Regions from separate parts of the Homo sapiens genome. Here regions 1, 2 and 3 are each linked to region 4. The links are contacts of gene promoters, found by promoter capture Hi-C in human tissues and cell types (Jung and others, 2019). All regions are on one chromosome and are shown on one strand. The core of a region is centred on a gene start or on the middle of the fragment in contact, and the rest is flanking DNA. Distances in the headings are between cores, read along the strand shown. Region 1 overlaps LMCD1-AS1 (LMCD1 antisense RNA 1). Region 2 overlaps LMCD1 (LIM and cysteine rich domains 1). Region 3 overlaps LMCD1-AS1 (LMCD1 antisense RNA 1). Region 4 holds the start of LMCD1 (LIM and cysteine rich domains 1).

What was found. The method cuts DNA at HindIII sites, captures the fragments that hold promoters and counts their contacts. A contact is called where the count stands out against the background at its distance.
Region 1: a contact is called between a fragment that was not itself captured here and the fragment with the promoter of LMCD1 in region 4, in 1 of the 25 tissues and cell types used here (aorta).
Region 2: a contact is called between a fragment that was not itself captured here and the fragment with the promoter of LMCD1 in region 4, in 1 of the 25 tissues and cell types used here (hippocampus).
Region 3: a fragment that was not itself captured here is called in contact with the fragment with the promoter of LMCD1 in region 4 in 2 of the 25 tissues and cell types used here (hippocampus and thymus).

What each region holds. Positions count from the first base shown.
Region 1 is chr3:8,460,212-8,463,611 of GRCh38, reverse strand. All of the region lies in intron 3 of LMCD1-AS1 (LMCD1 antisense RNA 1), which reads left to right. Among named protein-coding and RNA genes, the nearest start is that of LMCD1-AS1, 40 kb to the left of the region's middle. The HindIII fragment of the contact is 6,278 bases long and covers 1-3,400 here.
Region 2 is chr3:8,544,936-8,548,512 of GRCh38, reverse strand. The region is part of intron 3 of LMCD1 (LIM and cysteine rich domains 1); the gene reads right to left. Among named protein-coding and RNA genes, the nearest start is that of LINC00312, 25 kb to the left of the region's middle. The HindIII fragment of the contact is 8,356 bases long and covers 1-3,577 here.
Region 3 is chr3:8,443,130-8,446,576 of GRCh38, reverse strand. The region is part of intron 3 of LMCD1-AS1 (LMCD1 antisense RNA 1); the gene reads left to right. Among named protein-coding and RNA genes, the nearest start is that of LMCD1-AS1, 57 kb to the left of the region's middle. The HindIII fragment of the contact is 7,646 bases long and covers 1-3,447 here.
Region 4 is chr3:8,500,106-8,503,180 of GRCh38, reverse strand. LMCD1 (LIM and cysteine rich domains 1) reads right to left here and starts at 1,358. Exons shown (of 6, transcript NM_014583.4): 1 at 1,201-1,358. The coding sequence starts at 1,242. It overlaps LMCD1-AS1 (LMCD1 antisense RNA 1), which reads left to right and starts at 1,523. Exons shown (of 4, transcript NR_033378.1): 1 at 1,523-1,710. RefSeq lists an enhancer at 2,837-3,075. The HindIII fragment of the contact is 11,258 bases long and covers 1-3,075 here.

The DNA.
Region 1 (3,400 bases), core at 647-3,146, 40 kb after region 4:
AGTGAGATTTTGTCTCAAAAAAAAGAGAGAGAGAGAGAGATTGGAGAGGTAGGCTCAGTTCCGGAGGGTCTTGTCAGCGCATGAGAACAATGAGAAAGCACAAAATGTTTCTAAACACCATAATAACATTATCAATGTTGTTGTTATAATAGAGTTTCTGTGGAGGATAGTATGGGCAGCAAAAAAAGTGGGTGAAGTATGGGGCTCGGGAGTTCAGGTATGTCATTTCAACAGTCAAGGGGAGAGATGATGGTGACTTGGCCTAGGATGGAGGTATTGAAGAGAGAAGTGGAGACATTCAATTCCAGGGAGATTTAGGAGGCTTCATTGACAGGGCTTGGATATATGTATTTTTTTCCTTTAGAGAAGGGAGAAGAGGCACCAGAGATGAATTCCAGATTCATCACTTGTGTGAATAAATGGATGTTAATCCGTTCATTGACACTGGGGACACTGAAAAAAGACCAGATTTGTGGAGTTCATAAGTCAGCTTAGGCTAGATTATGCTGAGATAACAAATGACGCCCAGAGCTCAGTGGCTTACAGAAACAAAGGTTTATTTCTTTCTTGTGCTCTATGGCCACATGGATCAGTTGTACCTCTTTTCCATATCATTTTTACTCTGGCATCCATGATGATGGAGTAGAGGCATCTAAGAGGGTAAAGGAGAAAGAAGTAGGGCAACCACATGCTGGTTCTTAAATCTTTGGGGATGACACACATCCCTTTTTAGATTTCCTAGTACAAATCTAATCACATAGCCATGCCTGGGTATACAATCCTCTTATAGGTAGGGACACCCCAGGATGGGTGAAAAGTATTTTGAACTACAATAAAATTTACCAAAGGGAAATCTAACCTTCTCATCTGTAAAATGAGGATGATAATAGCATTTACTTCATAGGGTTCTTGTGATGAATTGAGTGAATTAATGCATGTATAGTGCTTAGGGCATTCGTACAATATAACCTGTGTCTCAGAAAGGAAAAAGAATTTGCCTAGCAATACCTGTTATATAACACCTGCTTCACCTAACTCCTGGATGTGTGGTAAGAATAAAATTCCATCTGACAAACATTTACTGGTTATACAATATGTATATACTCAGTGCTGGGCTGGGTTCTGGAGATTCAGATGAGAAGACCTTCCTTTTAAGGTAAGGAGAAGTGAGGCAAAGACATGGTCAATAAGTAAAACACCCAGGGGTCATGAACAGTGCTACGTCAGAGTGGCCAGCTCGGGACTTTTATATTTTTCTTTGGATGAGGAAACATGTCTGAAATCCCCAAGATTTCTCAGAAGTGTTGATCCTTGAGCTGGATCTTAAAACCTGAAAGGTCTCATCAGATAAGCAATGAGGGAAGGGCATTCTAGGAAGAGAGAACAGCATGTGCACTCACGGAGCCAGAGCTGCCTAGTACATTTGTAAATTTCACATGATGGGATGAAGTGGACATGAATGCCCATCTCTCCCCAGCCTGGGACTCATTCAAGCCATCATTGATTGATTGGCAAACCTAATGATCTTTGCTGAATGATTAGGCCAACCTAATGATCTGGTTTCACTGAAACCTCTCAGCTGGTGACCTGGCTCTCATTTTGTTCAGTGGGATGTTTGAACTGGAGGAGAGGTGGGGAGAAAGAGTTAACTTCAACTGGAGAGCAGTTTTGAGATAAAGGGGCTGGGGGTAGAGATACATTTAACAATTATTAAAGGGAAAGGAACTTTGAAGAAATGTTATAAAAGGCACTTTGAAGGCACATTTGGCTAAGGATGTATAGTACAATTCCCATCCTCAGTCTTCTCCATAGACCTTCAGCAAAATTTTACTTCATTGTCCAAATGCTATAGGGAATAGATTTGTGTGTCTATGTATTTGTGTGTTTGTGTGTGTTAGCATGTGTGTGTTTGGAATAAGGTGATACATTAAATTTGACTGTAATGCAATGGTAACCTGGCCAACAAGGTCCAGGTATCTTTGAGTCACAGGCTAAACAGCTCAGTATTGTTATAATACAGGCAGTGTTAGTATATGAAAATATGGAAGCAGTCAAGACTATTGTGAATGGCTTTGAACATCAAACCAAGAACTTCAACTTGAGCACCCAAAGTTAAAAACTTGACAAGCATACAGAACTAATGTTGTATGGTGGACTAAAGAAGTAGAACTACAGTCCTTTGGTAAAGGTGACTAAGTGTCCTCACATGCCCTCAAGAGGAACTGCCAACACTGGTGTGATTGTGGAATGAGAGAAAAAGGGGGAGAAATTGGTGCAGTTTCAAGATAAATAGTATTGCTTAAAAAAATAGCAACCACAACACAGTCTTGCCATGATATCTCTATGTGGTGTTGCCATGGAAAGAGCTATTTTCATTGGATGTGAGAGCAGGAAGCCATATAAAACAGAGAGAAATGGCCAGAATGCAAGCTTGAAATATCCCTGGGCTGCCACAACTTAGCAGCATTTTCTAAACAGGGCACTTTCTTTGTGTTTAGATGATAGGAATGAGAAAAATGAAAGGTCCCAATGATCTATTCCTTCCATTTTCCCACTGAAAAGAAAGTATGCCTAAAATCCATGGAATGAGGGAGATATTCCAAGTAAATGACAATTTGCTGAATGAAGAATGATCCCTAATGGCGAGTCTGTGACCTCATGCCCATCACCGACTTCCCTTTCCAACGTCCACCACCATCTTTAAATGATGTGCATATCTCATTGCCCTCTTTTTAAATGTATGCATTAAAATTATTTAAACAGTTGTGGTTGACTTTTTAATGGATATTTTAAGGGGCATGTTAAGGGGCTCCAGTGAGATCCAAAAGATTAATGAGGACATACAGATCTTTCCAATAAAAACATGTTTTTAAACATTCATAATATTGGGAAAAAAATAAAGCATAGTCAGAACTTGGAATGAGATGCTGGAGCCACCGTAGGTTTCTGATAAAATGATTAGTGCCCTAGAGAGTGGTGAAGTTTTGGGTTGGAACAGGAATTTGTAGAGTCTTGGGACTCGGAGCTGAGGGCTCCTGTTGAATGCACCAGAAACCAGGGAGGCAAATAATATTTTGTTATCATGATTGGCTCCCCTGTGGCCCTGTGGTCATGACCTTAAAGTTGACACAGTCCCTGAGGCTGAAGAAGGGAAGGGTTGTCCGTTTTAGGCAGCAAAAAGCTAGGGCATTAAGTCTTGTGTTTTCTGAACAACATGTGGGGAAAACAAACCTCAGCATGAGAAGGGAACGTGAAGACGCACCCATTCCAGAGAGAGACACAGATACCAACCAAATGTTAGTTTCCTGCCAGTTTTGAGCGATTGCTCCTAGTAACCTCTTGATTCCTCATATTAATAAACATTGGTTAGAAGGGCAAAGTGCACAGACTAGAACTCGAC
Region 2 (3,577 bases), core at 757-3,256, 45 kb before region 4:
AAGAAACTATGACAGAATCTACCTAAAACTGAAAATGCATTCTCTTCCAGCATTCTCAGCAACTGAAAGACCCACAGTCTTTATTTTCTTAACTTAATGCAGTTAGATTACTTTTGTAATTTTAGAAAATTACAAAAGCAATACTGTCCATTGTGACAAATAAAACACACATGAGAGAAAAAACTTTAGTAAAGGAAAAACACGCATCCCTTAGCTACCTTGTGTATGTAGGGAGTGTTCTGTGTCTCAATCTTGGTGAAAGGGCCATGGAAATGTATCTGTGTCAAAGCTCATCAAGCTGTACACATCAGATGCACGCACTTTGCCATATGCATACTGTATGATCGTGTGCTACATGACGGCATTTCAGTCCACGATGGGCCACATATACCATAGTGGTCCCATAAGATTATCATACTCTATTTTCACTATACCTTTTCTAGGTTTAGATATGTTTATATACACAAATACTGACTGACCATTGTGTTACAATTGCCTATAGTATTCAGTACAGTCACATGCTGTACAATTTGTGGCCTAGGAGCAATAGGCTATACTGCGTAGCCTAGATGCGTAGCAGGCTACACCATCTAGGTTTGTGTAAGTGCATTCTTTTCTTTTTTTTTTGAGATGGAGTCTCGCTCTGTTGCCCAGGCTGGAGTGCGGTGGTGTGATCTCGGCTCACTGCAAGCTCTGCCTCCCGGGTTCACGCCATTCTCCTGCCTCAGCCTCCCGAGTAGCTGGGACTACAGGTGCCCGCCACTGCTAATTTTTTTGTATTTTTAGTACAGACAGGGTTTCACCGTGTTAGCCGGGATGGTCTTGATCTCCTGACCTAGTGATGCACCCGCCTCGGTCTCCCAAAGTGCTGGGATTACAGGCATGAGCCACCGCGCCTGGCTGTGTAAGTGCATTCTTTGACATTCACACAAAGACAACATCACCTGAGGACACATTTCTCAGAACGAAACCCCAGCATTAAGTGGTGTATGACTGTCCTTTGTTTTAAAAAGGATTTTAAAAACTTACACCTTATTGGCTCATGGTAACAGCTTGCCAACAACTTTGTGTTTATCGTTCCAGACAATAGTATATTTATTAAATAAGGGCACCCAGTCTTCTTTCTGCCTGGAACAAATAACAAGTAGGGTTGTACTTAATGTATTTAAATGCTATTTTCTGTGCGTGTGTACCATTTAACATGAGTCCTTGGTCAGTGGGTTCTGTTTCTCCTGTGACTGGGCCAGCCCATGTCATGGTGTGGGACAGGGAACAATCTTGCGTGTGAGAAAGAGACACTTGTTTGCATCTGCTATTGTGTGCTCTATCTGTTGGTTAAGTAGCTAGCTGTCTACTTGCTAATAATAATCATTATTTTATTGCTTATTCTCCAAGGAACACTGTAGTTTTCAATTTTGGATGGCAGTGGAAAGAAAAAGGAGTCTACATTTACTCATGGGCTAGGTTTTCCATCAGAATTTGAATAAAGCTCATTTTGCTCTGTTCTCTGACTTTCAATTAATGGTAATAATTACATTTACTAGTTTGCCTCTATCACCAAAGAAAAGTTGCTGCTTTTAAACCTCTTCTTTAGTATCATTTGCTAGACGGTAGCCAGTTGATAAAACTCTTAACAGTATAATGACAAAAGTTATGCCAGCTGGCTGCCCTCACAAAACCTGTGTCCCACTCGGCGCTCTCTTCTCACTGGCCCCACAATTGATAGGCTTGATTTCTACCTTCACTCATGGACTTACACCTCCCCCTGCCCCTGGAAGGAAAAGCCCTCTCTCTTCTTTCCTGTTCTTACAAGCAGCACTGTATGCTTTGGTCTCTCCCTAGTCCTTAACCATTCCTAGTGTATTTGAGCTGACCCTCTAGCGGGACAGTTCAATCCCTGAGGGCAGGCCATGTCCCTTCTACCATAGTAGCAAGAGCAAAGGCTCTGGAATCGGCTTGTCCTGAACTGAAATCCTGGTTGTAGGCATGCCGGCGGTGTGACTGTGGCCATGTCATGCCGTCTCTTTGCACAGGTTCTTCAGCTGTAAAAAGGAGGATCGTAAACCCTAGGGTGGCTATAGGATTACTTAAAAGAACCACAGCGCCTACCAAGCTGCTCCAACCACAGCCCATGGGCCACATATGGCCCAGGACAGCTTTGAATGTGGCCCAACAGAAATTTGTAAAAAATTCATAAACATTCTTAAAACATTATGATATTTTTCTGTGATTTTTTTTAAGCTCATCAGCTATCGTTAGGTGATGGTGTATTTTATGTGTGGCCCAAGACAATTCTTCTTCCAGAGGAGCCAAAAGATTGGACACTCCTGATCTACATGCTACTGACTTTCTCTTTTTTTTTGTTTTGTTTTGTTTTTTTGAGACAGAGTCTCGCTCTGTCACCCAGGCTGGAGTGCAATGGCCTGATCTTAGCTCACTGCAATCTCTGCCTCCCAGCTTCAAGCGATTCTCCTGCCTCAGCAGGAGAATCCGGAGTGGCTGGGATTATAGGCGTGAGCCATTACACCCGGCTAATTTTTGTATTTTTAGTAGAGACGGGGTTTCGCCATGTTGGCAGGTTGGTCTTGAACTTCTGACCTCCACCAACCTCGGCCTCCCAAAATGCTGGGATTACAGGTGTGAGCCACCGCACCTGACCCTGTTTGCTTTTCTATCTGTGGCTTTTCTCTTTTCAAATCTCTGATTACAGTTAGACTCACCAGCTACATATGTCAAAGTAGTGTCTCTCAATGGACACAGTGTACAATAACCCTGCGAAAAATTACTAACATGCAGATTCCCAGGCACCAAGCCCCAGTCAAGATCTCCATCCAGTAGGTGAGGTGTGGGGTACAGGAATCTGCATTTTTAACAAGAATCCTGGTAAATCTGATGCAAGAAGTTGGCTCCTGGACTTTACTTGCACTACTGTTTCAATAAAATACTGGCAAACAAAAAAATTAGTGAGATAAACAACTGGGATTCTCGAGCACTGGACAGAGATCTGAGGAAAGGCCAGAGGACGATTCCTAGCTGCTTCAGGCTTTTGCAAAATGTAAGAATTCTCAAGGAAGAAATATGAATTTTGCTAATACCTGAGAGATGCCTAAATGAGCTCTTACTCTGCTCCAAGTTATAGTCAGAGATTCACATTCTTGATCAGAATGGTGTAATTTAAGTAGATGATCATTTTAGATTTGCTGGCTTTGCAACATGAATTTTGTTTCTCTCAAAACTGAATATTTTTATTTCATTTACCTCCTGGGCAACATTCCTAATTAAAAAAAAAGTCAACCTTGTCTAAAATCGCTTTTTCTTAGAAAAGTATAATTAAATCATTATGGACATAAGGTATTTCATGGTTTATTAATTAAAAAATATGCAAAGTCAACTTCTAATAGTAGAATCGACAAGGTCTCAGGTCAGTAACATTTCCCCATTAATATGACTGGTAACTGTCTGAATATTAATGTGTTCACAAGTAACTGTCCAATTTGGCCTCATTTATATATTTGTTTTTATTGAACGTAATTCTTATGCATGGGTGAGTCCCAGGGACGGGGAGATTAGGGGAAGA
Region 3 (3,447 bases), core at 833-3,332, 57 kb after region 4:
ATTTATGTGGAATATCCAGAAAAGACAAATTAATAGAGAGAAAAATCAGATTAGTGGTCGCCAGAGACTGAGGGGAAGCAGGAATGGGGAGTGGCTACTGAATGAGTATGGAGTCTCCTTTTGGGGAGATAAACAATTCTGGGACTAGACAGTAGTGATGGTGGCTCCGCATTGTGTATGTATTAAATGCCCACTGAATTGTCTACTTTAAAATGGTTAAAATGGTAAATTTTATGTTATGTGTATTTTACCACATGCATACACAAACCTTTCCCAGGTTACAATAAGGCATGGCCATTTTTGTTTCAATAGGATTTGTATAGATTCTTTAGATATGGGTGTATTTTTAAAACTATATAGACTATTATGAGTTTAACACCACAACTGCCCATAGTGTGATCTGTGGATCAGCAGCATTTCCATCAGCTGGGAGCTTGTTAGAAATATAAGTTCTTGGATCCCTCCCCAAACCTAGTGAGTCAGATTTTCTGGAGGTGGGCTCAGCGATCTCTGCTTTAACAAGCTCTCCAGGCACTTCCTATGCACACCAATGCCAAGTTTGAGGAGTATTTCTTTACGATTCACTAGGCCATTGGTTCTCAGCTTTTAGTGTGAGTAAGAATCAACTGGAGAGTTTGTTACACAGGCAGGTTCTTGAGTCCAGAGACTATGATTCCTTACATGTGGATGATGTTCAGAAACCTGCATTTCAACAGGCATCAAATGCAGGTGGTCCAAGGACCAATTTCTAAAATGCAGAAATAATGAAGAAAATTGATTTTTCAAACTTTATTGTGCATGAGTGTAAACTGGAAAGTTTGCTAAAATTGCAAGTTTCTGGGACCTGCCTCCAGATGTTCTGATTCAATAGGTCTAAGATGAAGACTGAAAACTCACCTTTTTAACCAATCACCTCAGTTAATTCTGAGGTCAAGAGACCACGTTTTAAAAACCACTGCCCCAGACATGAAGCTCCCTGAGGACAGAGGACAGCTTTCAAGTGATCTTGCTAGGCTAGAGCTATGGCTTCAATCTAATAAAATGGAATTCACTGGAATGGTTTGCATGTTCAGGACTTGAGCCCAGATCATCAATTACATCAGTAAAAAATCCAGGAGATGTGACTTACCTGCCATTCACGTAAAAGATACAAAGCAAAAAGAATCCCTCTGTGGTTGTATTCAGTGTTATATACTGAGGAAGCTAAGACAGACTTAGGCTTACTTAATAGAAGTGTTGTATCTAAATAGTTGGCATTCAAACTGTACACAGAATATCTTTAATTCTAGATGTTACACACTGGAGCGGAAAGTGAAACTAACATTTATTGAGGCGACTACACATTTATCTTATTTATTAAACTATTTTATTCCATTGAATGCTCATCCTATTACATAATCTTTAAAAGATTATACCCATTTTAAAGGTAAGCAAAATTGAGGCTGCCATGAAGGAGAAGTAGCTTGCCCACTGATTTTCTACTTTTCTCCAGAGTACCTTGACATCTCTTTTGCCACCAGCACTGATAGCCTCTGTGCTGGGAGATGCTCAGTACAGTCAAAGGGGATTGGTTCCAGGGCCATTGCGGATACCAAAAACTGCTCCTGCTCAAGTCCTTTATGTAAAATAGCATATTTGCCTGTAACCTATGTACTTTAGATTACTTATAATACCTAATACAATGTAAATGCTACGTAGTTAGTTTATATTTTATTTATTTAATGTACTTTACAATTCGTATTATTTGTACATTTTTTGGAGAATATTTTTCATTTGGTTGAATCCGCAGATGTGGAACTCGCACATATAGAGTGCTATAATCCCACTCTAGCAAAGTGTCCCAATGCCCCACTGTAAGCCCTGTCATATTGGGAGGTCATCCTTTGTAACATGGGAACGAAGCTGCACAGCTTCTGAGTTCAACATTTCCTCGTGGAACGATTCCAGCCCAGCGCTGGGATGACATACTGTTTGCTTTGCGTCTCTGGTATGTGCCTGGTGAAATATTTACCAACTGGTCCGCTCTGTCCACAGAGCGGCCGTGAGACTGTCTGTGTTTGCTCCAGTCAGCTTCCTGGCTCAGCCTGTTTCCTTGGCAACGGCCTTTCCTGTCAGCAGCCTTGAAGGAAGGTATAAAAGAGCACACTGTTAGGAATTGCTGTCTGGGGCCCAGCGGGGTTAGGTTTGCCTCCTGGATCCTTAACAAGGAAAGAGGAGTAAGTTCTTCTCTTAAGCATTGCCACTTGCTTTTCCTGTGTCCTGAAAACTATCTTTTCAGCTTTGTGTGTTACATCAGCCAGGAAGGTTACACTATGTGATCTGGTGGGAGTTGGGGACGTGGGGGGGATGGAGGAGGAGGCATTTCCCCACAAAGGACTGTAATTGAATCCTGTGATGGTTTTGTAGTGTAATAATCTGATTTTGATTTGTCAATTATTTTCTCTTCTCTTAAATAGCTCTCCCACATTTTCCTTCTCTGCTTTATTCAGACCTAAACATTCCTGACTTAGGAAGCTTAATGTCCCCCAGAGTGCCTTCCCCGACCACTGCTTTACCCCACCAACCTGAAGCCACTGAAGGTGTTCCTAAACCTTCAGCGGACTGAATTGCTCCTTTGCTCTGGAATTTCTGGTGACTCCCTGTTGCTACCAGATGAGCCCCAAGACCCCTATGATGGAATCCGATGTTCTCATGCTTGAATGAGCCCAGCACTGCCCAGTGGAGGTGATTGTAAGCCATATATGTCATCTTAAATTTTCTAGCAGCCACACTAACAAAGTCAAAACAAATGAGTGAAGTTAATTTTAATAATATATTTTATTTAGCTCAGTATAACCCAAATATTATCATTTCAACAGCCAAACAATGTAAAAATATTAATGAGGTATTTTACTTTATTTGCTCCCACTGAGTCTTCAAAATCGGTGTGTATTTTACACCCACAGCACATCTCAGTTCAGACCAGCACATCGCAAGTGCTCAGGGGCCTGTGGCTCTGTATCTAGCCCCTGCCTACCCTTCCTGCCTCTTCCTGCTCCACCTTCCCAAACCCTACAAGTTTCCCAGTCCCTCACATGCATGAAAACTTTTGCCATCCTGTGACCTTCTCCTGCCCTTTTGCTCCATGCTGTGCTCTTGCACTTCTCATTCCTGTTGCCTGGCTGCCCTTCTGTACTTGAACTTCTATTCATCTTTTAAACCCATGTTTAACGTCTTCTTTTTCCTTCCCTGTTTTATCTGTCCAGTAGCACCTTGTGTGTATCTCAGATATAACACTAAGTGTGTTGTATTCTGATTATTCGCTTAGAGGTCTCCTCTACCACAGGGAGCAGTTGTAAAGGCAAGGGCATGTTTTGGTCACGTTTGTGGCTCCTGGTAAATATTTGAATGAATGCATGAATGAGGGAATGAGGACATGGAAAACTGCTTTGGTGCTGATGTTAGGAT
Region 4 (3,075 bases), core at 109-2,608:
GATATTTAAGGAAGACTTTGCCCTTCAAGACTAAACCCTGTGAAATCAGAGTTTAACAATGACTGCTTTGGGAAATTAACTCACAGTGTCAGTATCCCTGCTACCACTGCCATGAGGGAGGTTAGGCCTATCCTCCCCACATCAGAGACAAGGAAACTGAGGCTCAGAAAAGTGACCTGGTGAATCATGTGCAGTTAAAAAGTGGCAGGGACTGAGTCTGGATGCCTAGGGCTTGCCTTACAGTCAGCTGCCTGTTAGAACCAACTCTCTGTGACCCCGGGCCTCAGTTTCCCGATCTGTAAAGCCTAGGTTGTCTCTCTGTTCCCTTCCCGTTCACATGTTCTCTAAGTCTCCAGCCTGTGCCTTCTCCCAGCTGCATTCAGGTAGGCAACAAGTGGTATTGGAGCTATAGGCACAGCCGCAGGCTCCTGTGCAGGAGTTTACCCATGACCTTCTGGGCTCCGGGCCAGCCCTTCTTGTAAGGGAAACGTGCAGACCCTGGGGACAGAAATCAGTTCCCTTATGCTGGAACTGCTGCCACTGCCAACATCACCAACTAAAGAAACTGCGTGCGTGTGTGTGTGTGTGTGTGTGTGTGTGTGTGTGTGTGTATTGGGGGAAACACACAAAACACTGGGATAATAGCAAAAGGGAGACTGTGAGTAAATATTACATGCTCTCAACCCTTACTTCAGCCACCTGAGGACAGGGAGTGAGGAAGCTAGGGGTTTTTCCTTTACAGACCATAAGATTTCATATATATATATTATATATTATATATATTTTATATATAATATATATTATATATATTTTATATAATATATATTATATATTTTATATATAATATATATTATATATAATATATATTTTATATATTATATATAATATATATTATATATATTTTATATATATATTTTATATACATTTTATATATATTGTATATATATGTAAAACCTTAATTAAACTTTAACTAGCATCACCAAAGACATAAGACCCTTTGCAAATATTTTACACAACATTGGGTTTGGGGTGTGTGTGCCTGTTAGCTCAAACATGTATTCCCAACTATTTGTTTTCCATGCAGTTTTGGAATTTAAAGAGTTCCCTTCTCATTACCTTTTGGGAAGTTTCCGCGAACAGATGGGAAGGGGAACAAGAAAAAGTAAGAATCTGGGTAAATACAAACAGCTTTCCACTCACCTTTTTAACTCCTGGGTTGAGGTCCTTAGCCACCTTTGCCATCCTCTTCTGGGGTGGGGGAACAGCGCCTGGCTTCTCAGGCAGAGGCGCGAGGGCGCGCAGCGGGGACAGCGGCGGCTGAATGGCCAAGTTCGCGGGCCTGGGAGGGAGCTCTGTGCGCAGCCAGGCGCAGCTGGGCCGCTTTAATTGGAGAGCGGGACTCCCTCTAAAACCTCGCCAGCCACTCCGCGCCGGCGCTCGCGCGAGGCCAGCCAATCCCAGCGCGAGGCTGTCCCCCTCCCTCAGGGAGGTCTCTGCACTGTGGCAGCGAGCGGAGCTGAGCGCCGGCTGCCCTGACGTCAGCATGGCCGCGGCCCCTGACTACCCAGCTCCCTTCTATCCCTCGAGCGGCAGGAATCCGTCCCCACGCCCTTTTCCTTTAAAGGGCAACGGGCCGAAGGTGGGGCGGGCGGCGCGGCTCCCGCGATCCATTCAGGTCAAAAGGGAGAGTGATCAAACAGGAGAGCCGAGGTATTTTTAGTGAGCTGGATCCAGAAATAAATGCTGAGCTGTGCTCCCCTTCCCACCCTTTCTGCCTGGTCGTAGGGGGCGCGGGGAGGGCTGAGGGAGGAGGTGTTTTGCAGGAGCTGGCTAACGTTTCCCAAACCTGGGCGAGTTCTCCAATATCCAGAGAGGAGAAAAGATTCCAGCGAGTTATGATTTTTTTAAACTTAACGTTCGTAAAGTATTAAACTGCTTTCTTATAACTTGCTTTAACATAAATCCTTCTTATTCCATGAGCAAGAAATCACTGTCCTGATCTTAGAGATGCTCCTGTGGACATACTGTCTTGTTGTATGCTCATATTATCTCAGATATTATTATTATTATGACTGTAAGACGATAGATGAGGAAATAATCAGAATAACTGGTCCACAGCTGAATTACTGAGCAAGGCTTTAACCTGAGAGACTGAGAGTAATAGAGAGAAAGCTCATGGGGGCGTGGCGGGGGGGGGGAGGGAGGCGGCGGGCACAGGATTGTAAACTATAAACTAGGAAGTTAGTAATTTTTAGATAAATGGGGTCATGCAGGCCTGGACAAACAAGATTCCATCTGAGTTCACAAATCCATGGAATGTGGAGTCCTTGCAACGCATAACATAACTACTCTTATAAGACAGAATTGGCCAGGTTCCTCTCTCTATGCCACGTTGTTTGCCTATAAAGCCACATCTCTCTGCTGAGCCGGTTCCACAGACTTGGATTCCAGAGGCATTTCCCCCCTGCCCTGACAGAGGATTAAACACAAGCCCTTTTTATCCTAGAGAGAATACTGCTGTCTCTGTTGTGAGGTGTTCGGCCTGTAACCCGTCTTTGCAGTGCCCCCTGCCAGAAAAACCAGGGTCCCGTGGGCTAAAATAAAACTCGGTTGCACAGAGACTGAAGAGTGGTCCCGAAGTACACCATTCGGGAGGGATTTGGTGAGAAGGGGAGGCTGCAGTTCCCACTGTGGGGCTGTCTCTTGCTGGAGGCTTTTTCCTCTTGAAAGCCTCCTCCAATTTAGTTCTTATCATCATCTCCAGTCATCCCAAATCTCAGCCAGGGATCCTGAATTGTGACTTTTTATTACATATTCCTGGAAAGGGCTTTTTGTGGCTTATCTTTTCCAAGATGAGGGATGACCTATTTCTTTTTTCACAGATTTCTGCTATAATTGATTTTTGCCTTGTTTGCTCCCAGCTATGTCCTCAAACACCTAGCATGTGGTATAGGCACAGTACACATTTGGCAAATGAATAGAGGTTGGGTTCTGGCTTTTATTTTTTTTATTGATACATCATGATTGTACATGTGGTATTTTGATATATGCTTACAATGTGTAATGATCAAATCA